7 separate regions of the Homo sapiens genome follow, and all the other regions are linked to region 1. Evidence: promoter capture Hi-C in 16 types of primary human blood cells and fetal thymus (Javierre and others, 2016). All regions are on one chromosome and are shown on one strand. The core of a region is centred on a gene start or on the middle of the fragment in contact, and the rest is flanking DNA. Distances in the headings are between cores, read along the strand shown.

Region 1 (3,159 bases), core at 253-2,752:
GAGCTTTGGAGCTACCACTAACTTACCTGTGTAATCTTGGTCAAACTGTCTCAAGACTCCATTAACCTAACTGCAAAATGGGAATAAAAACTTTACTAACCTTTTAAGGTTGTCCTAACCCTTAAATGAGATGATGAAACATACACACAGCACCTGACCCTGGTAAGCACTCAATAACTGTTCATTCTTATCCACAAGACACACTTCCAAAAATGTCAGCTCTAGCATGCACATGAGAAGTTATTAGACAAGGAAGCAATACATGTTTCCCTACAGTTTCCTGATATTCTGAAGAGAGACACTGGATCTGATATTCTGATGAGAGACATTACATGAAACTTGCAGAAATGGTAAAAATCATGCAACAGTCATACTATGAGGAGTTTGCTACATGCCCTTCCTATGGCTTCCTCCTCTCATCCCCTTCACCTCCTTGGCTAAGTGGCAGCATAGCCCAGGACAAGCTCAGTACTAAGCTCAAGTAGAAAGTCTGAATTCTTTCACATCTCTAGGAAGGACCTGTTCTGTGACCTTGGGAAAATCAGTTCAATTACTCAGAATTCTGTAGGTAAGAAGAAACCAAGGGACATATATACATATATGCATATATATATGCATATATATGTGTGCATATATATATATGCATATATATATATATGCGCACATATATATGCATATATATGCGCGTATATATATCCACACATATATATATGTGTGTGGATATATACACACACACACACACACACACATACACACAATTTCTGTATGTAAGAAGAAACCAAGGGACTGAGTAACTGAATTGATTTTATATACATATATATATTTTATATATAATATATATAATATACATTTAAAATATATATATATAAACATATATATATATCTTTTAAATGCCTCTACCTAAGCTAGTGGCCCAGTCCTGGCCAGGCTGGAACAACACCTAAGGCCTGGGTTGAGAAAGCAAGGACGGAGGACAGAGAAAAGGGAGGCGTTCCCTGGGCACCACCCCTCCACCCTCAGGCTCTTCCAGGTGGCAGTATGCCCTCTCACCCATCTCAAAGTTGCGGGGGAGGGGGGACTGCGTCTCGAGGGCTGAACAGTCACAAAAATAGAGCAAGAAGTGAACCACAGTTAGACCCTGAGGCAAGGAGGTTCCAGAGAGTCAGGAAGTTAATAAGCTGGGATGCAAGGATTGCAGCCTGCCGGCCCCTGCCCCTCGCGGGCGCCTGCGAGCCTGGGAGTCCGGGCTGCAGCGGGACCGAGTGGGCAGTCCCAGGGCTCACCGTACTCCCGGGGCTCCGGATCTGGCTGGAAAGTAAAATGAGCCACCTGCCGCCTCTGGGCCGCATCCTCGACAGTCGCGGCGGGGTGCAAAAAGCCCCGCGCCAGCCCCGCGCCAGGAAGCCGACGCCAGTGCCCCTCAGCCCCTGCCGCCCTGAGCCTGAGTAGCCAGCCGGCAGCCGCCGCTACAACCGCCATCCCCGCTCACCACCGGGATTCTCAGGCTATGCAGCCGCACGCCGCCTGCGGGGAGGGCGGAGCACCCGAGGAGGCTTCCACATTGGTCGGGCCAGAGGGGCGGTCCCATGAAACAGACCAATCGGAACTGGAAATTTAGGGGCGGGGAAGGCGACGTGACGAGCTGGTCGGCTTCTGCTCCTTGTGCGCATGCGGAAGAGGGGAAGTGTGGGCTAGAGGTGGCGCCAATGAAATAGTTTCTGGGGTGGAGCCTCCCCGAGGTCGGCCGTGCGGTCCTCGGGTGAGGACCCGAGTTTGCAAAGTTCCACACAGTGCCTGGAGGCGATCTTTTCCGGTGTCATTTACAGTGCCATTTCCAATGGTTTAACATCCATACTTTTTTTTAAATGTAACCCTTTTTTATCCTGTCCTGTCTCTATTATTGTGTGAGAGGTGAAGAGAGCTACTGATTGGCATTGGTTATTGTTTTGACTTTCGAAAAACTGCTGTAGTCACTGCTCAAAGCTTTCACTCCTTATTCACACCCTCCTTAAAATGCTTAATAAGCATATATAGATTTTTATTGATTTCGTTTTTCCACATTTAAATGAGAGATGAAAGAGGTAAACTTAGATTTCATCCTGCAAATCCACTGAATAGGAATTCAGATACATTTTGCCCAGAAGTAGCAAAAATTACCTGATTGGCTTAGTCTAAGTAGCTTAGAAACCTGGAGAATTTGAGTCACTAATTTTCATTTATAGTAATCAACTATGTAAATTTGTTTTAATCTAAGTGTTTACCAGGATACATTCTCTGTCCATGAATTTACTAAAAAAAAAAAAAAGCACATAAAACATGAAATATCATAAAATCAAATATGACAAGAGACAACAGAGACAGTGTGTCCATCAGATGAAAATGGGAGGGTGGGGAAGGATGGTCCCAAAACAGAATTTGAAGAAGAAAGTGGGAGTGGAGGAAAAGAACATTCCTCTTCCATTATGCCTTGCCTCTTAACCCATCTTTGGTTTTGCACAGGGGCAAGGGAGGAGAGGGTAGAAATGGGGCAAAAGGAGAGGCAGAGAAATGTGTTTTCTGACTGAGATTAAGAAACAGCAATTGAAAACTGCCAAAGGGAGAACCAGAATTATGTCTCCATTTTTCCTACCCCCACACTAAGTCCAAAAATTCAACATTGGGGAAATTTTTTATCTTGGCTTTTGTTAGTGTTCATTTCTGCTGTTTTAATAGTGTGGGGTAGAGTGTTTTGCATGTGCATGAAGGGTATTTTTGTTTTAATGAAGGAAGGGGTAACAAAATGAAATTACATTTACATAGTCAAATTTGGGTTTAAACTAAGGAGAGTAAAGAACAAGGATAAAAATGAATAGAGCTTTTTTTCTATTTGTTGATAGTTTAGGGAGCTGGGGGTACTGAGATTATTTAGGTCGGGGAGAAAAAGAGAAAAATAATAACTGATGAGAATTTTATTGAACCTCTGCTACGTACAACCCAATGACAAGCCACCATTGAGACAAATAAGATCAAGGCATAGTTTTACTTCTAAAATGTCCAAGGTGGTAGAGAAAAGAGACAGATTAGGCAACTACAATCCAATGTGATAGGAGTCCTAGAATAGTGCAAACAAAGTGAAACACAAAAAGAGCAATAAACTCTTATTTGAAAGTCAAGTGTTTC
Region 2 (3,159 bases), core at 313-2,812, 1.9 Mb before region 1:
ATAAAACAGAAACATTTCTTCAAAATGCAATTTATCAAACTAACATGAGAAGAAATGGAAAATATAAATAGTTCTATAAAATAAATTGAATTTGTTACCAAAAACCTCACAAAGAATCTATACATCCAGATAGTTTCACTGGCAAAATCTATTAACAACTTAAGAAATAAATATTGCCAACTTTTCACAAATTCTTTTGGAAAATAGAGCTGAAAGGAATACTTTCTATATTATTCTATGAGGCCAATATTACCCTGATAATGTAGCCAGACAAAAACATTGCACACAAAGAAAATTATAGTCAAATATCTTCCCTGCACACAGACATAGAAATCCTTCACAAAATAATAGGAAATACGATTCAGCAGTATGTTTGTTGTTGTGTGTGTGTGTGTGTGTGTGTATGTTTGTGTGTGTGTCTGTGTGTATGACTATATCATGATCAGGTGTTTGTTTTCAAGGAATAAAAGGGTTTGTTTAAAATTTTAAAGTCAGTCAACATAGTTCACCATTAAGAAAAGGAGAAAAATCATATATTCATTTCAATAGGTGCAGACAAAACACTTCACAATATTCAACATCCATTTATGATTAAAAGCTTTCAGCAAGTTAAAGATAGAAATTTTCTCAATCTCATAAAGAGGACTCACTAAAAATCAACAGCTTATATTTAGTTGTGAAATTGAATGCTTTCCTTTTAAGATTGGAAACAAGAGTGTTTGTTTTTACCATTCCATTTGTACTTGAGGCACTAGTCAGTGCAAAAAGACAAGAAAAAGTCACAAAGATCAGATAGGGAGAAGTTATTTTTCTTCTATTTATATTCACAGGAGAAATCATTGTTTACTTAGAAAATCCTAAAGAATCTACAGAAGAACCACTGGAACTGAGAAGTGAATTTAGGAAGGACTCAGTATACAAGATCAATATTAAAAGATTATTTCTATATGTTAGTCACAAACAATTAAAAAACAAAACAAGAAAACATTTTTATCCTTAAAGCACTCAAAACATAACATTCTCAAGAATAATTTAAACAAAATGTATACAAGACCTCAACATGGAAAACTACATTGTTGAAAGAAATTAAAGAAGACTTAATAAGAGATATAGAACATTTATGGATTGAAAATTCACTATTATTGAGATATTAATTCTCCACAAATTTAAATATAGATTGAATCCAATTTCAACCAAAATGTTGGTTCTACATGTTTAAAATGTAGACATTAAAAAAAACTGATTCCAAATTTATATGGGAAATAAGAGGCTCTAGAATAGCCAAAACAATCTTGTAAAAGAACAATGTTAGAGGCTTCATTGTACCTAATTTCAAAAGACAGTCAGCTCATATCTGTGGGTTTTGCATCTGTAGGTTCAACCAACACAGGAAACATTTGAAAAAAACAATAAAAATAACAATACCACAATAAAGATAATGCAAATTTAAAAACAATACAGTATATCAACTATTTACATAGCATTTACATTGTATTATTATAAGTAATCTAGAGATGATTTAAAGTATATGAGAAGTATATGAGAGGATGTGTGTAGGTTATATGCAAATACTATGTTATTTTATGTAAAAGACTTGAGCATCTGCAGATTTTGGTATCTACAGGGTGTCCTGGAATTCCTCCCCTGCAGATCAAGGAATGACTACACTATTAGGCTGTATTGCTTAAGACATCTTGAAATTGGTATCAACATAGACAGAGAGCTAGAACAGAATAGAGAGTGCAAAAGTAGACCTATATATACATGGTAAACTGATTTTTTCCAAAGGGATCAAGGCCATTTAAAGGGAAAAGAAAAGTCTTTTCAACAAATGGTACTAGACTGTTTAATTTTATGAAAAAAAGGGTATTAACACTACCTCATGCATACTCAAAAATTAATTTGAGATAAATTATAGATCTAAACAAAAAAGTTAAAATTAAAAAGTTTCTAAAACACATAAGAGAATATCTTTGCAAATTTGGAGTAAAGATTTCTTAAATAGTATAGAAAAAGCACTAATTATAAAAGAAATTAAAAAATCAACTTCATAAATATTAACTTTTTAATATCTAAAGACGCCATTAAGAAATAAAAAGGCAGGCTGCGCACAGTGGCTCACGCCTGTAATCCCAGCACTTTGGGAGGCTGAGGCTGGTGGATCACTTGAGGCCAGGAGTTTGAGACGAGCCTGGCCAACACAGTGAAACCCTGGCTCTACTAAAAATACAAAAATTAGCTGGGCATGGTGGCACATGCCTGTAATCCCAACTACTTGGGAGGCTGAGGTGGAGGGATTACCTGAGCCCAGGAGGTGGAGGTTGCAGTGAGCCGAGATTGTGCCACTGCACACCAGCCTGGGTGACAGAGACTCCATCTCAAAAAATAGAAATAAATAAAAATAAAAAGAAAATCCATAGATTTGGAAAGTATATTTTCAATACATATATTTGAAATTTGTAAATATAAAAACTCCTACAAATCAATAACAAAAAGTCAACCCATTCAAAAATGAACAAAGCTTGAACCAACATTTCAATGCAAATAACCATTATGCAGAAGGATAGGTGCTCAACATTGTCTTGGGGGAAGTGAATTTTACCCACAAAAGGATACCATAGAAAATATTCCACACCAACTAGAATAATCGAAATTGAAAAGACTGACTGCACTAAATGTTGGCCATGGTATGAAACATTATGGACTATCATACATTCCTGATAAGAGTATAAAATGGTATGACCACTTCAGAAAACTGCTATTTTTAAAATAAATTAAACATATGCCTATGCTATGACCCAGCAATACCACTCTTAGGTATTTAACCAGGAGAAATGAAAACATATGTTCACAAAATATTGGAAACAAATGCCCAAAAATAGGTAGGTAGTTAAATAAATATGGTACTGATGAGCTACCCCAAAACATTGGGCATTTGAGAAAGAGCAGAAGTAGGAAGGTCATTTTTCCTTTTTCCCCCTTCTCCCTGAAGCAGGGTATAAATCCTAAGATGGTTACTTTCTGACTTCCCACCCTTCTCTTCTGAAGCTGGTCATAAGACTCTCACTTGAGAGGTGCCCTTCTTATACCTGGAGAAAAGGGACACAGAGAGGAATCTTAACAAACAGGCCTTTCTAAGTTCCCCCCAGTTTATTATCA
Region 3 (3,159 bases), core at 340-2,839, 1.9 Mb before region 1:
TTGCACACCAAAAGTGTTCAATAAATGTTTATTGAATAATACCTTAAAGTGTGCTTCAAAGGAAAAGTTGTCATTATTAGTTTGTTCTTTGAGTTATATAAATCCATCTTCTGTACTGAAAATAAATTATCTAAAATCTGTGTTTTGAACTTAATATTAAGCATATAATCCAGTGAATGACAAGCTTCTCTGGGAAACATTAAACTGAAATTGCTATGTTCCATCTCTTCAATCAAATGTGAATTTTCTATTAAAAAGAAAAATTATACTTTTAGAAGGTTGAGTAGGATGGCACTTTTAAAAGCCTTCCAACTGCATAAATTTAGAACAATTCAAGGAAATTCTCTAACTCTGAGCCCACATCTTCTTCATTTATTGTCAATTGGAGCACTTTCATTCATTTTAAGTTTTCCTGCCTCAGCTCTGTGATCTCTAGAAATGAATGTTAGAGATGAGGACTTAGCCAGATCAGCACTCAGATGGACAGTGGAGCAGAGGTTGTCTCTATAGTCTTAGCGGAATATAACTCACTAATGGGGACCCAGGTGAATACAAATTGTAACTGCTGAGGGAGGAGAAGGAGATTGACAGCAACCAAAACAAACAAACAACAACAACAACAACAACAAAAAACCCCAGTCGTCTTGATTCAAGAATGTTCAGCTAACTATCAATGCTTAATTATCATTACTAGACTGGTCAAATATAAGAGCTGGAGATGCAGTGTAAACCCAAGGTAAACAGTTCTTTACCAATAATTCACTAAAAATGAGTGTTTGTCAGGCTCCCATCTTTAATCAGCACTAAACAGACACACTCACTGAACGAAAAAGAGGAGAATTGCTGAAGTCATTGCAAGCACTTCTCCAGCATCAGGGGAGCTTAAAGTAAATGAAAATGCCTTCTGCTGCACTGTCCATCTCAACAGCCTCCACCTAACTGAACCCTCTTCTCTAAAATTAGTTTTTAGAGATCACAGAATTCCCAAATATCATTCACCCCCCCAAAGTTTGGGTCTTATATTCTTTTTAATGTGTACTCTGCTCTATCTGGATCAGCCCTAGCTCTATCCCTGTGGCCCTCCCGAAAACCGGGCTCCATTGTTCCCTTTTTGTCTGTTGACTGGAAACTTCAACCAGAGAAGCTCCATCCCACTTTGGTAAACATACAATGTAGAATATCAGCTGACTTCTCCCATTATGAATTCATATCATTGTGCTTCTGTTTTGTTCAAACTTACTGTTCTATTCAAAAACCCAAACCAACAGTTTCAAAATTTCATTTCTGTAGACTCACAGCCTAGGGAACTTACTATTTTCATAGAGAAAAGTGACAGTTTACTGCACATTCACAAATGTTATTTGTTTAGTTATTATTTATTTTAGAATATGTATTTATTTAAATTGTCAAATAAAAATTGTGTAGATTCATCATGTACAACATCACATTTTAAAATATGTATATATTGTGGAGTGAATAACTTAGCTAATTAACATATGCGTCACCTCATTTTTTGTGGTGAGGTAATGCATATGTTAATTAGCTAAATTTACACTTAAAAGATAATCATTTAAAATTTACTCTCTTACCAATTTTAGAGAATGTAATACATTGTTATTAACTATAGTCATCATAGTTCTTATTTCTTGACTTGCTAAATTGTACCAGAGGTTTCCTTTGCATTTGTATTTGTGCCAATTTGTAGTTGTTTCCTAATAGTTTTAGTCAAAGAGGTATATTTCCTATTCTAGAATATTAATTTGTAACACTTGCACTAAGGTTCTATTCTCTTTCACACACGTACACATATACAAACCCTTCTGACATCTCTAGTCCTGTTAAACTTCACTCACTCACACCTTCAAACATCACATTGACTACAGCTTCTGAGCCCTGAATCTGGACATGTTGTGTGACAAATGATTTGTCATTTCCAGAGTAGAAGATGAATCTATCTTCTATCCATTCATCTTGATTTTTATCTGTAGTCATACAGAATAACTCTTGCTTTCTGTTTTGCATGGTTCTCCTGTATAACTGTGGTGATCAAACCTCTTAGTTCTTTTCTTTCCTATTGCAAACTTTCCCTGTTCAGTTAACATGTTTCATTTAATATAGTTTTCAAACATTTCAGACTTTTCAATCTCTTTATAATGTCGTGATAAGAAATTGTGACAATACTAAAGATGTAGTCTGTTTAGTGTTAGGTACTATAGACCTACTCCTTTCTTTTGTGTACACCATATTTTATCAATAGAACCAAGATAACATTCACATTTTGACCAGCTTATAAAACATATCTTGGCTTATATTGTACCTGCTTCAATTAAAACCTCAATGTCCTTTTTGTTCAAGTCTCTTGTTATGTGACTGTATGTTACTTTACAGTAATATAATTTGTAACTCGAGAGTTCCCCTCAATTCTGTAGTTTTGGGTCATTCAGCAGGCAGCAAACATTTACTGAGCCCCTGCTGCATACATGGCACCATGCTTAATGCTAAGGGATACAGTGGAGGAGCTCACAATCTCATGAAGGAGAGAGACTAACACGTATTTTTAGTTCAGAGTAAGAAATGCAGCAGGAAAGATATCTGTAAGATAGACTTCTACCCAATTAAAGAGGAGCAAGTAGTTATCAATGTGCTAAGAACTTTAAGTAGAAATGTTCAGTCATTGGAGCTGGGAGAGATTTAGCCTAAATTTAAAGATGGGAGCATGGTAGACTTGTCATTTTGTACCCACTTATTCACTGTTTCTTCCTTTGCCTTTGAGACACAAGCCTTTCCCTCTTTAATACAGCCAGATTTGGATTAGCAATTGACATATGCTCCTTCTGTCTCCCTTACCCATGGGATTATGATATGTCCCAGTGAGACCAATATGATATTCAGTTTCTGGAATTTCAGTTTGACCAAGGAGCTGAAATAATTTTCAGCCAATTTATTGAAGTTGCTGGGTCCTGATGAGACTTCTTTCGGTTCCTACAAGCTTGGTGCTGAACTCCATCTAGGTCTGTTTTTAAGCCCAAGTCTTTAGTTTCCCCTTCAATTATGTGAGTTACCTCATATCCTTACCACAAATTCCTTTTCAGCTTAAGTTGTCAAAGCTGGTTTTCATTGCTTGCAACTATATAATTCAATTAAATAACTTATTGATGC
Region 4 (3,159 bases), core at 447-2,946, 1.9 Mb before region 1:
TTTAATGAAGTAAAACATGGGTGTACAAACGCTTGTTTCTGAAATGAGCTCCATTGTCTTTGTACTTAGTAAAAATTTCTCATATACGAAAGCAATAGGTTAACTATCAATCTTAGATTTTATCTTATATATGTTTTCTACTTTATATGTTTTAATGTATGTTAGGTGATGAAATTAAAGTTATAGGATTTTAGAGTAAATTTCACAGATTGACTGTTCTTAAATTTGAGAAGATAAAGGAGTTTGCTTTTTTTTTTTTTGTCAGGCAGGAAGTTATACTTAACAATCTCTTTTAGGATTAGTTGCTTAAACTGGGTTGGGAATACTTACACATATTGGTCAGATGCTAAATAAATCTATAACAAAATATCTTTTCTTGGGGATATTTTTATTTTTATAAAATTGATCACATATTACAGTCGTAGATTTTTCTGTCTCAACTCTGAGGTTTTTTGGAATCTACAAAATATGAAGTACTCATTCTATACTGTGAAGCAATCAAAATGCTAGCGATCTCCTTAATACTTTTGTTTACTCGAATTACCCAACATTTTTTTTTAGTGCTTAAGATCACCAGATTATCATAATTCTCCTAGTAGTCTTTGGAATACTTGAAATAATGAGGGGATTTCTACTGTTATATATTTATTTATACATAAGCCATATAGTTTTATAATCCAGCAAATAACAACTGAGTATGTGGAAAGTTTTCTGTTTGGACTTTCTTGGTGCTTGGCATGTTTGTTACACTGACACTCAGGTGAGATATCCCAAAGATTGTCTAGTTTTCAATGGATATGTATGTTTTTATCATTTCTTTAAAAAAGTCTTACCATGGGCAACAATTTGCCAAAATATTTTTACTGATTGTTGTCACTTGTTATTGAGCCTTCTTTTCAGAGCTATCTTTTTGAAACAGATATGAACTTTATGAGTCATTGAGTGATTTAAGTTAAAATGAATTTGATAGCTTTGGGGGAGTTTGCTCAAGGGAAAAAAGGAGACTGTGTTTTTGTCTACACGTATTGTCAAATCAAGACATAGGAGAGCCAACTTTATTCTCCCAGAAGAGATATGGTCAAGATTGGTTTCAGCCTATTTTCTATCTTATATATATATTTAAAAGAATTTGTTTTTCCCACAGATGATTTTGAATAAAAAGTTGTCAATTATTTTCATCATTATTAATCTCAAGTCATAGTAGTAGAAATTGTCATTCCACCCTAGTCGGCTTAGGCCTATAATATTGCTTGCTCTAATAAGTATGTGGCAACACATTTCCAGCAGTGTCAATGAAGTTCATATTAAGTTTTAGGAAATCATTTCACATTTTAGTATTTCCAGGTGAAGATATTGCGGTGAACTGAGTTTACACATTTAATAATATTAACCCCTTAAAAATGTATGTGAAATTACATTTCAATTTATCACAGAGATTGCATTTAATATGGTGAAGTTATGAAGATGAATTAGCTTAAGAAACTGTGCTCCATTTTTTATCCACTTTGCAGAGAAAGACCTGGAAAGAATATGTGCAGAATAATCTAATAAATTTAGATTTAAACTTGGATGAACAGTCCAAGATAAAGTATATTACCTACCAGCATTGTGCTATTGCCTAATGAATATTTGGAGGATATAATGTTCGGTTATTTATTACACTGATTTCACACACAAAAGTGTATCTTGTCAATCAATATATAGAAATTAAGACTCATCATACTACTGTCTTCTGGAAACTGGAAAAGTACCAAAGAAATATGATCTTCTTATATCAATTCAAGAGTTTGAAGACTCCCTTTGTGATGTTGGCTGAACTTTGATGTGTATTAAATTATTATTTTTTCTGTTAGCTTGGATTTTAAAGGGGCCTGACCGTTTGGAAATGGCAAAATTGTTTTCATGAATACTTCAGAGATTTAAATATTTTCATTTACTTTCTGTATTAGTTCATTTTCACGCTGCTGATAAAGACATACCTGAGACTGGGCAATTTACAAAAGAAAGACATTTAATGGACTTTCAGAAGCTGGGGAGGTTTCACAATCATGGTGGAAGGTGAAAGGCATGTCTCACATGGCGACAGACAAGATAAGAGATCTTGTGCAGGAAAACTCCCCCTTATACATCATTGAATCCTGTGAGACTCATTCACCACCACAAGAACAGCACAGGAAAGACCTGCCCCATGATTCAACTACCCTCCATCGGGTCCCTCCCACAACACATGGGAATTCAAGATGAGATTTGGGTGGAGGCACAGCCAAATCACATCACTCTCCATATTGCTGTATTCTGAGAAACAATATTTAGTCGCTGAAAGATTTGATTAAAACACAATTTGGGTCAAATAATATCCATTTATTTTCGTGGGGGATTTGGATTATAAAGTTCCACAGTTGTTGGGTTATTGATTGTGTCACTATTCCTGACACTTGCTAAGCTCAGTTGGGATGGGTTGAGATAAAGCATAATAGTACCGTTATTTTATTAAGGGAGTTAAGGGGCTTTAGATTTCATATTTATTAAGGGAACTAAGTAGAATCTAAGGAATAGGAGGATTTAGAAAGAAGTTAGCTGAGGCATTGATTATGATCTATCCTTGGGGAGAGTGGTGTTTGATGAAAGTCTCTTTACTGGGTATATCCCCAGAAGAATATAAGCCATTCTATTATAAAGATATATGCACATGTATGTTCATTGCAGCGTTATTCACAATAGCGAGGGTATGGAATCAACCTAAATGCCCATCAATGATAGACTGGGTAAAGAAAATGTGGTGCATATATACCATGGAATACTATGCAGCCATAAAAAGGAACAAGATCATGCCCTTTGCAAGGACATGGATAGACTTAGAAGCCATGCTCCTCAGTAAACTGACACAGGAACAGAAAACCAAACACTGCATGTTCTCACTTATAAGTGGGAGCTGAATGATGAGAACACATTAACATATGGAAGTGGGGAAAATACACACTGGGGCCCATCAGAGGTAGGGTTGCGGGAGGGAGAGCATCAGGAAGAACAGCTGATAGATGCTGGGCTTAACACGTAGGTGATGGGATGATCTGTTCAGCAAACCACTATAGCACACTTTTACCTATGTAACAAACTTGCACATCCTGCACGTGTATCCCAGACTTAAAATAAAAGTTG
Region 5 (3,159 bases), core at 203-2,702, 1.9 Mb before region 1:
ATCTGAACTCTGCTTCCTTATTCTGAGATACCAAGGGTTGTTGACAGCCACATTCTTCACTTGGTGAGACTGCTGGAGAAGCAGTGTCCTCAGATAGAGAAAAGCTTTAATTAAGGCAAGAAGGTGGAGTGAGTTTAGTGGCAAGGCTAGGGATTGAGGGCTCCAGGAAGCATAATGAAAGTACTGGGAATGGGAAGATGGTTAGAAGTTGGGGTCAGGAGAAGGAAGTCACAGAACACTGTCATAATGCACACTTCTAATTTCGTTGCCTAGAATGGGAATCATGACAGGCTAGTTCATGTTCTACAACCACACATAGCTAGTTAAAGAAGCAAAGGCAAACTAAGACCTCTAAGATTTAATAGTGGCAGTGTTTAGTCATACTATACTGACATTCATCTTTTTAATGGTAAGTTTAATGCAAAATAAAATTTTATTTTCTCAATAAAAACACATTTAAAGGAAGCAAATACTATAAAACACAATTTGAACATTAAAATGGAGCTCAATGTAAAACCTAAGCCAATAATAGTTTCTAAAGTATCATCTATAGGCATATATGCATTTATTTCAAAATAATCATGGCCAATGAAATTAAATGGACAGTGGCTTGAGAAAATTGATTTTTAGAAAATGAGTCATAAAGTTGGAACTCAATCTTATAGTAACACAGTGACCCAGAACTCCTAGTAATCTATAAACCTATAACTAGGAAACACAGAAATAAATGTCTCTTAGGAAATGTAGCTATAGAGTTCTTAAAACATGGAAAAACTAATGAAGCCACTGGGAGAAATTACTGAGGCAAAATCAACATTTAAACAATTTGTTATATTACAGAGGTCATATTGGAAGAAAAGAGACCATATTCTGATATATATATACACACACACACACACACACACACACTGCAATATATGCATACATATATGTATACAAGTATATATATATACACACACATATATAAATCCTACATATAAAATAATTACATATATATGTGTGTGTGTATATATATACACATATACAATTTTGGCAGAAGTACATGGCAGTGGCAGCCAAAAATCTTCTCACAGATTAGTAAAGAGACAATAATTTCCTAAGACAGAAGGATTTATTTAAAAGCTCTTTATAAACATTTACCTTTAGTAAAGTCTCCACATTATAGAAATAACAAATGATCGGCATGTTAAAATCTAAAGCTTCTTTTAAATGCAGCAGGACTATGTGGGAACTTTCTCCTCTTTAAAAGTCATTTTCTTGAAGGGATAAACGTCACTATATCCTATGAACCTTATAAAATGTTTGACATTCATATGCACATATAAAGATACAAAAGGTCCTTTAATTCTGAACATTTTTTTTTGCAGTGTAGCATTAATGGATTCTCTTAATTACATTATTAGTATATGCCCTCTATTTTCCACTTCATTCATTCAACAAATGGTTTTGGGGTAGCTACTCTGCCCCAAACACTGTTCTGTGAAATAGGTGGGAACATAGTTTTGAATGATGTTAGTATAAAATATGATACAAGGTTTTTGTGGAAGACCTCTCTTCTGAGTTCCAGTTTTCTTCATAGTCATGCCACTTGGAGGATCCCCAGGCTCCTCAAACTCACTCTTATCTTGTAAGTGAAATCAGTGTTCATTCTACCAGGGAAGTGTGATTGTTTCCTTGTGTTCCTCTCTCACCTGTTAGAAGCTTTCCAAAATGTAAACCTGGCCACAATGCATCCCTGTTGCAACACTCCATGGCTCTCGTGCCTAAGGCAATATTTCAAAAAATATATGTGAATGCACACACACACACAAAAGAGTAAGCTTGGAGGAAAGAGATCATAAGCTAAAATGGTGACCACAACCGTGGCATTTTTCCAAAATTTCATGATTTACCTTTATAATTTATAAAGTTTTGCATATTAATCTACAGTGTATCTTTATTTCTTTTTCCTATGTTTGAAAATTCTCACTGTTTAACATCTTCTCACCTATCTGAGTAAAATTTTCCCTCATAGGTCTTTCAGTACCATTGATTTACTGGGCAAATGGCTACATATATTCTCTGGCTTTATGTATTTCTGACTCATATGCTATAGTTGGAGAAATAGAGACCTAAGGGATATAGCTCAGATCTTGATGCACGTCAGATCTTGATGCACAGCATTCATGAGGAGGCAGTGTAGCCAAGCACTTAGGAACCTGGGCTGTGGAATTTAATTCCTTATTTGAATCCTGACTCTGTTGTTTGCTAGTTGTTTGATCTTGGGCAAGTTATTTAACTTCTTTGGTTTTATTAAATAAGCCTTGTAATAGCATCAACTTTAGGGTTATTATTGAGACTATGAAATGATATAAATAAAGGGTTCATCCTAGTGCCTGGCCATAATAAGTGTTCAGGAGTGTTTATTCATCTCTTGTTAGACCCCCAGGAAATAACTTGCAATGTCTTTCACATGCCATAATATTTCATGTAGATCTGCCTTTGGTCTAGAATATTCCACTCCCATAATATTGTATATTGTATCACCAGGGAAGGAATAGAAGAAAAACAAGTTTCTGTAACTTCCCTAAAGGAAGAAAACCAACCAAACAAAAAAACCAATAACCCTGATATGACAGGTATAATGTACATAAAATTCATTATGAGGATAGTAAAAGGTAAGTCATCTCTCTTTTTTTAATGTAATAATGTAAACCTCACCTAGTCTTCATCAGAATAGAAAATAAAACTATGAGCATTCTATCTTGGGAGAGGTTGACTGGGTTTCACCAGGATCGCAGTATTAATGGCAGAGTTAAGCATGACAGCTATCACCTTATAGCCCCATCCCCATGTTGTGTTCTTCCTTGACTCATCCAACCTTATTCAGCAGTTGAATTTCCACTCTCTTCCTTCTTTCTCATCCCTTTACCATCTTTTTCCCATCCCTTTTCCATCTTTAAGTGGAAGGTTGAATACATACTTTCCACTTAAAACAAACACGCAGCTCACCAGTTCATGTAACACATCCTTCCTGGAGCCTTCACTGACATTAGAAGATCCTGATAAACTGACATAGTGAATTAGGACCCTTCAGCTTGAGAAAAGTTCACTTAGCCAAATAATGTTGGCATTTCTATACTGTGAACCTCAGAGTAACCTTTATACACTCTACTAACA
Region 6 (3,159 bases), core at 224-2,723, 1.7 Mb before region 1:
ATCCAGGCTAATATGAGGAAGGTAACTGCTCCTTTTGTATAGTATTCATTATTTTGCAACATAAAGTCTACAGAGCAAGCTTGTGATAACCTACAGAAGAATGTGAGAATTAGGGCCCACACCCACTGAGTTTTAATGAAAACACAGTTTTCATCTCCATTTTGACACTTAGGTATGTGCAAATGTGCCTAGAATAGAACTGGGATTTCCCCTTTTCTAGATCAATAAAACCCTAATTAGTTGACTTTTCTGGTCTACTTCAAAACATTGTTTTTGTGTCATATCATTTGTTTATTCTTGATCTTCATTTGCTTTTCCTTTGCCCAAATACTGTGGCAGAGGAAGCTTGCCATATGTTTTATGAATTAACCAATAAACTCATTTATCAGAATTATTATTTGTTCATTATAGACAATCCTCATGAACCCATTAGGGCAAGACCAAGGGAAAAGTAAGCACAAATCTCAATTACTCTGCCTTGGCCCAAATGCCTTCTGTGTTCAGATAGTTTAGTGTCAACAGGTTATGGGGTGTGTGTGTGTGTGAGTGTTTTCTTTTTAATCAGTTCCTTTCTTTGAAATAGCCGACTTTGCTTTCACACATGATCAAGTTGTGAAGTTTTATTTTCCATGAAAAGAAACTGAATTGAAACTGAAACTTCTCTACCAGTTATTCAAATGGATTATTTTATGCCTCATTAGCATCAATTATCTCTAGAAGGAAGTATGGTAGGACTTTAAATGGGTTACTGCACTACAGCTAACAGCTGGCAACAAACTATGCTTCAAGCAAACAAATGAAAATAGCAAAGAGACTTTAACCTGGGAGCTTACAGAAAGAGACTGATGAAGGGAGGTTGCAGACGAAAAGTCTTGTGGAGAAGTGGAGGCAGTTCCAGTTCTCCACGGGGTCTAAGATGTACTCTTGATAGAAGTGCTTGGCACCTGGTAACGAGTTTTGTCCATTGATGCTGATAAGAAATGCTAATATATTTTATAGAAGGCTTAGCAAAGGATGCCTCATAAAAGGGAAAAGTGTCATTCTATAAAAAGTCAGTCTCTTTTTGTTTCAGACTATTTTCTGCTGCTGTAACAGAATACTACAGACTGGGCAGTTTATAAAGAAAATATATTATTTGACTAATTGTTCTGGAAGCTGGAAAGTCCATGATAATGGTGCCGGACATCTGGCAAGGGTTATCCCATGGTGCAAAGTGAAAGGAAGAACAAGCCAGCAAGCGAGACTCAGGGAGAGTAGGGGCTGAACCCTCATGATAACAAACCCATTTCTGTGATTAATCCATTCATGAGGGCAGAGTCTTTAAGACTGTATCACCTTTAAAAGATCCCACCTCTTAATACTGCCACAATGACAATTAAATTTCAGCATGAGTTTTGGAGGACACATTCAAGGCAGTGTATTTTTTAAAAACTTGAACAGTGTTTTTTTTTTTTTTTTGAGACAGTGTTTTGCACTGTCACCCAGGTTGGAGTGCAAAGGTGTGATCTCAACTCTTTACAACTTCTGCCTCCTAGGCTCAAGACATCCTCCCACCTCAGCCTCTCAAGTAGCTGGGACTACAGATGTGCACCACCATGCTGCCCACTAATTTTCGTATTTTTTTTTTTTTTTTTTTGTATAGACGGGGTTTCACCATGTTGCCCAGGCTGGTCTCAAGCTCCTGGACTCAAGAGATCTACCTTCCCAAAGGGCTGAGATTACAGGTGTGACCCAACGCGCCCAACCCAGTGTTTTTTTGTTTTGTTTTTTTTTTTTTTCCTCATGTGCTTGACGCTGCCAGTTGCTAGGGATGTAGGGACAAATAAGCACATAGGTGAAAGGTGTGTGTTGTAACTTCACAAAGTACTCTAATGTACACTCTATCAACTGGGTGTCAGTCAGGAAGCAGTTCGCATGCTCACATAGAGTAGAGTTCAATAAAGAAACTATTTATAAGGGAGTCACCACAGTGAAGCAAAACCAAGATAATATAATATCCCAGAGCTAGTAATAGCAGGACATCACTACCAAGAGGAGGGACTGGTTACTCGTCCCCAGACAATATATACAGTGCGTAGGGCATCCTGTGGAGAAAGTCATTTGACAGGAACCACGGACCTTCCCAGGGAGGGAGCACATCTCCTGCTAGTGCCTCCATTTGCGCAAACAGAAGCCCAAGGATGAAGGAGCGTTGATGGAGGCCCTCCAACTGAGCTTCATGGGGCCCGAGTTGGGGGAAGAAGGCTGGGGCAGAGTGGATATAGAGGGACAAACAGAGGCTGTCCAGGACATGGACATTAGCTCATGGGTATTTACAGTGACCCCATAATAATAATTGTAATAATTGACCTGAATCGAGGGCTTCCTATGTGCCAGGCAGTGTATCAGGGTTTTACATCTCATCAAATCTGTACAGCAACCTTATGAAGTGGGCCTCATTATTCATACTTTCATCAAGGAAGACTTCAAGGCTTGGAGACATGAATTTGCCCTTTCACCCAGCTAAAAGTAGCAGAGCTGTGATATGACCCAAGGAGTCTATTGCTAGAGCCAGGATGCCTGGCTGCCTGCTCATTTTTCACTTAGAGAAACAGAAGCTTATACAGTTTAAGGGACTGATTCAAGTTAACATGGCTGTGAAATGATGATCCTGTGATAAGTTCAGTTTTTCCTCTAAGGCTTACACTTGTCCCATGACATCTTGCAGTTGTGAGGGAGGTGGGTGAGATGGGATCATGTGAACACAAGGCAATTTGAGCTGAACAGAGGAGACTTGAGTTTGCACTGTTTTCTCTGTCTGAATTTGTCTGTTTTCTTCAGGCTAAGGGAGTAGCGTGAGTGAAATCAGGAAGGTGAAAAGTGTGGTTATATCCGGCTAGAGTCAGAAGAGAAGAGGGTGGTAGAAAGGCTGCTAGGCACAGCCTTTAAGAGATCAAGGGAGTAAAAGATGGCACAGAAGCCAGCTGCCTAAAAGGGGAAGAATTCAATGAAAGGAGAACCAGGAGAGGCTTAGAGGGATTAAATTATATACCCAAGAAAATAATGACAGGAGCAGAACGACGTTTATCTCACTTAAAAGTATTGTTCTTTTTAGGAAAGCACACAGCCTGCCTTTATATATGCCCCTATTCCATATCAGAAGTGCTGGAATTTTCTAAA
Region 7 (3,159 bases), core at 167-2,666, 1.7 Mb before region 1:
TCTTCATACAGCAACTATTGAATGGTTTCCCTATTCCTTCAGAATGGTGGCTAGATTCACATGCTTGAGAAGCACACAGATGTGGACTGGATTTTATGGCACACACAGAGGAAGTTCAGCTCTTCTAACATTTGCTTTCTAAATAACGAAGGCTCTTGAAAGAAATCATAAAACAGAAAATAAGTTCTAATGCTTTTACCAAAGGATGATTTTTTTTTTTTTTTTTTTTTTGAGATGGAGTCTTGCTCTATCACCTAGGCTGGAGTGCAGTGGCACGATCTCGGCTCACTGCAAGCTCCGCCTCCCGGGATCAAGCCATTCTCCTGCCTCAGCCTCCCGAGTAGCTGGGACTACAGGCACCCGCCACCACGCCTGGCTAATTTTTTGTATTTTTAGTAGAGATGGGGTTTCACCATTTTAGCCAGTATGGTCTTGATCTCCTGACTTTGTGATCCGCCTGCCCCGGCCTCCCAAAGTGCTGGTATTACAGGCATGAGCCACCATGCCTGGCCTACCAACTGATTTTTATTTAGAAGAGAGGCTCTTTAGCCTGTGGAACTTTTTGCTTTTATTCCTTGTTTTTATGTAAATAAGACTAATAGGTAGCATAGAATACTAATGTTCTCAATGTAGTCTTACACAGAGATGGGTACTACTCAGAGAAGTGACAAGAGTGCTAAATGAAATAACCCAAAAATAATATAAAGCCCTTGGGTTGTCTATTTATTTAAATTAACTAATAAATCTGGTGCATGCAATGCTATTAATGTGAAAGTTAATAACATGGACTGGCTTATACATACATAGGCCATATAAGTTTGCTTATCTGTAAAATGAGTATAAAAACATCGAATAGGATTTTTGGAAAGATTATATAGGATAACTTTAATCTACAGCTTAACAGAGCACACAGTGAGTCCTCAATGTTGTCATTACTATAAGACAGTAAAATAGAGCAAAGGGCTCTGAACTGGAAGATAAGAACCCCAACTTTTAATAATGATTTTCTTACAAATTAACTGGATGACTTTAGTACTTTAGTCATGTCTCCTAATTTCTGTCAGTAAAATCAGAGGGTTTACTACTTGGTTCCTATATTGTGTATCTTAAAAATAATATGATTATGAATAAACAAGACAATTGCCAACTGTGTTTATGTGTGTGTGTGTGTGTGTGTGTGTGTGTGTGCTATGCTGTATATATTTAAACTAAGGGCTGCTGGTTACCAAAAGAAGACTTTTAAATTGAATAAAATAATCCTGGGATAATGATTTCATTTTGTTGATTAGTCAATATCTAGAAACTAAGGACTAAGCAAGTGGTGAAGAGGCTAAGTGTGTGCTCTGGATCCAGAATGCCTGGGCTTGAATCTAGACCTATTATTTATAGTTTTGTGATCTTGGGAAAGTTAGTTTCGTTGCCTGTATGATTAAGACAATGAGTATCTTACATCAGAGCGTTGTTGGATGGATTCACATGTAAAAAACTCTTAGAACAGTGCCTGACAAGGATAAGAACTCAATAAACATTGGCGATAATTCATCTGCCTCGTTTTTATTCTGCCTCCTATTTTCCTTCTGATAATTTACCATTTAGAAATGAGATAACTTACCATTTATTTATCATTTACTAATGAGATAACAAGTCTTTAAAAGTAATAATACATTTTAAAATACTAAAGCATTTTTTGTTAGAAATCTCCAAAATCAGTTGGGCCTTAGCTCCAAGTCTCATCAAAATCTGGTATAGACTGTATTGATACATCAAATTGAATTTTACTCACTTTTTAATCTCTAATTGAAATGCTTTTTCTTTGTAATTAAAGGAGTTTCTAGCATCATCTGAACAAGTGGAGTAGAAGTGGCTCTAATTGGTGAGTGTTTACTACATGTCAGGCTATTATTCTCCATTTCGCAAATGTTCCCTCACATAATCCTCACAACCTGTGAAGTGAATATCATTCCCATTTTATAAGCAAGAAAGACTCTAGCAAGTAGGAAATGGTGAAGCCAGGATTTTTAACCCAAATTTCAAATCTTTTACTGTTTCCACAACAAATAATGTGAATAGAGGGGAAGGAGAAAGGGTGAAAGAAAGGATGGAAATAAGTAACTTCCAGGGAGCTCTGAATCATGGTCCCTTTACTATCCTTACATTCCTATAAGTCCCCCAAACCCTTAGCATTCATTTTCCTCTGTAGTCTTCATCTCTGCTCTTAGTCCAGTCTTTAGAGGATCAGGCTCCATCCTAAAGGGGAGTGTAGAAGACGTGGCTTTGGGCAGCCTTGTGGACTTTTTATCCTGTGCACTGGGGCATAAAGCACATTTTCACATAATATCTAGGAATTCTCAAAGTTCTTGCCACATATGATGTCCTGGAAAATCTATTTTAAATAGCCTCCTAAATTGTTTTATTTGGGGGCAATGAAGACTGGTGTTTGCAAATAGAAAACAAAACAAACAAACAAACAAAACTCTGTGAGAAACACTTTAGGATCCTGATGTCTGGCTTAATTCAATTATATACTAAATATCAGTTAAAAGCAAGAAGGTGAGTAGTAACAAATTTTATGTGAGATGAAAAGGAAAAATCTGAAAAGCCAGTCCTGAAGTTAAAACTCTCCTTCAAGTAGGGAAGGGTGATTGGCATCTGGTGACAGTAACAGAGCTCACATTGTCTTTGTCCTTACCACATTGCTGCGGTGTATAAATTTTTGCCATTCCAGGTTCCCAAAGCTATTCTCTCTGATCTACAGGCAGGCCAAATGATCTCTGTTCTATCAGAATCTAACCCAACTAGCCCCAGAGTCCACTGGAAGGAGTGGGAAGGGGATGCCAGAAAGCCTGGGCATGCAGGGGAAGTTGTGCCTGCTGAAGTCTGCCTGCTGGGGCTGTATAGTGTGAGTGCCCTCACAAATGCCAACTCCTTTTGACATATTCTATGCAGCTCTGGAGGACTGGTTGATATAGTGTGTATATTTATTCCCTTTAAATCTCACAGTGAAATGTGATCAGTGTTGGAGGTGGGGCCTGGTAGCAGGTGTTTCAGTCATGGGGGTGGATCCTTCATGAATGGCTTGGTGTCCTCCCCACTGTAAGGAGTGAGTTCTCACTCTGTTAGTTCACGGGAGGTTTGGTTGTTAAAAAGAGTCTGGGACTT

The links. The method cuts DNA at HindIII sites, captures the fragments that hold promoters and counts their contacts. A CHiCAGO score of 5 or more calls a contact.
Region 2: a fragment that was not itself captured here is called in contact with the fragment with the promoter of BCKDHB in region 1 in 1 of 17 cell types (neutrophils); the score reaches 6.9 in neutrophils.
Region 3: a contact is called between a fragment that was not itself captured here and the fragment with the promoter of BCKDHB in region 1, in 1 of 17 cell types (neutrophils). The highest score is 5.5, in neutrophils.
Region 4: a contact is called between a fragment that was not itself captured here and the fragment with the promoter of BCKDHB in region 1, in 1 of 17 cell types (erythroblasts). The highest score is 5.0, in erythroblasts.
Region 5: a contact is called between a fragment that was not itself captured here and the fragment with the promoter of BCKDHB in region 1, in 1 of 17 cell types (monocytes). The highest score is 11.8, in monocytes.
Region 6: a fragment that was not itself captured here is called in contact with the fragment with the promoter of BCKDHB in region 1 in 4 of 17 cell types (total B cells, neutrophils, naive B cells and 1 more); the score reaches 7.0 in total B cells.
Region 7: a fragment that was not itself captured here is called in contact with the fragment with the promoter of BCKDHB in region 1 in 2 of 17 cell types (neutrophils and naive CD4 T cells); the score reaches 11.2 in neutrophils.

The regions. Positions count from the first base shown.
Region 1 is chr6:80,105,014-80,108,172 of GRCh38, reverse strand. BCKDHB (branched chain keto acid dehydrogenase E1 subunit beta) reads right to left here and starts at 1,502. Exons shown (of 10, transcript NM_183050.4): 1 at 1,284-1,502. The coding sequence starts at 1,479. RefSeq lists enhancers at 1,160-1,239, 1,206-1,706 and silencers at 1,290-1,389, 1,420-1,619. The HindIII fragment of the contact is 20,612 bases long and covers 1-1,985 here.
Region 2 is chr6:82,049,956-82,053,114 of GRCh38, reverse strand. All of the region lies in intron 3 of LINC02542 (long intergenic non-protein coding RNA 2542), which reads left to right. The region is part of intron 2 of LOC107986617 (a long non-coding RNA gene); the gene reads right to left. Among named protein-coding and RNA genes, the nearest start is that of LINC02542, 50 kb to the left of the region's middle. The HindIII fragment of the contact is 1,923 bases long and covers 601-2,523 here.
Region 3 is chr6:82,025,407-82,028,565 of GRCh38, reverse strand. All of the region lies in intron 3 of LINC02542 (long intergenic non-protein coding RNA 2542), which reads left to right. All of the region lies in intron 2 of LOC107986617 (a long non-coding RNA gene), which reads right to left. Among named protein-coding and RNA genes, the nearest start is that of LINC02542, 75 kb to the left of the region's middle. The HindIII fragment of the contact is 2,805 bases long and covers 187-2,991 here.
Region 4 is chr6:81,986,442-81,989,600 of GRCh38, reverse strand. The region is part of intron 3 of LINC02542 (long intergenic non-protein coding RNA 2542); the gene reads left to right. Among named protein-coding and RNA genes, the nearest start is that of LINC02542, 110 kb to the left of the region's middle. RefSeq lists a silencer at 702-902. The HindIII fragment of the contact is 4,309 bases long and covers 1-3,159 here.
Region 5 is chr6:81,965,759-81,968,917 of GRCh38, reverse strand. All of the region lies in intron 3 of LINC02542 (long intergenic non-protein coding RNA 2542), which reads left to right. Among named protein-coding and RNA genes, the nearest start is that of LINC02542, 130 kb to the left of the region's middle. The HindIII fragment of the contact is 502 bases long and covers 1,202-1,703 here.
Region 6 is chr6:81,818,684-81,821,842 of GRCh38, reverse strand. No RefSeq gene overlaps it. Among named protein-coding and RNA genes, the nearest start is that of LINC01526, 6.1 kb to the right of the region's middle. The HindIII fragment of the contact is 2,252 bases long and covers 348-2,599 here.
Region 7 is chr6:81,777,633-81,780,791 of GRCh38, reverse strand. No RefSeq gene overlaps it. Among named protein-coding and RNA genes, the nearest start is that of TENT5A, 27 kb to the right of the region's middle. The HindIII fragment of the contact is 3,644 bases long and covers 1-3,159 here.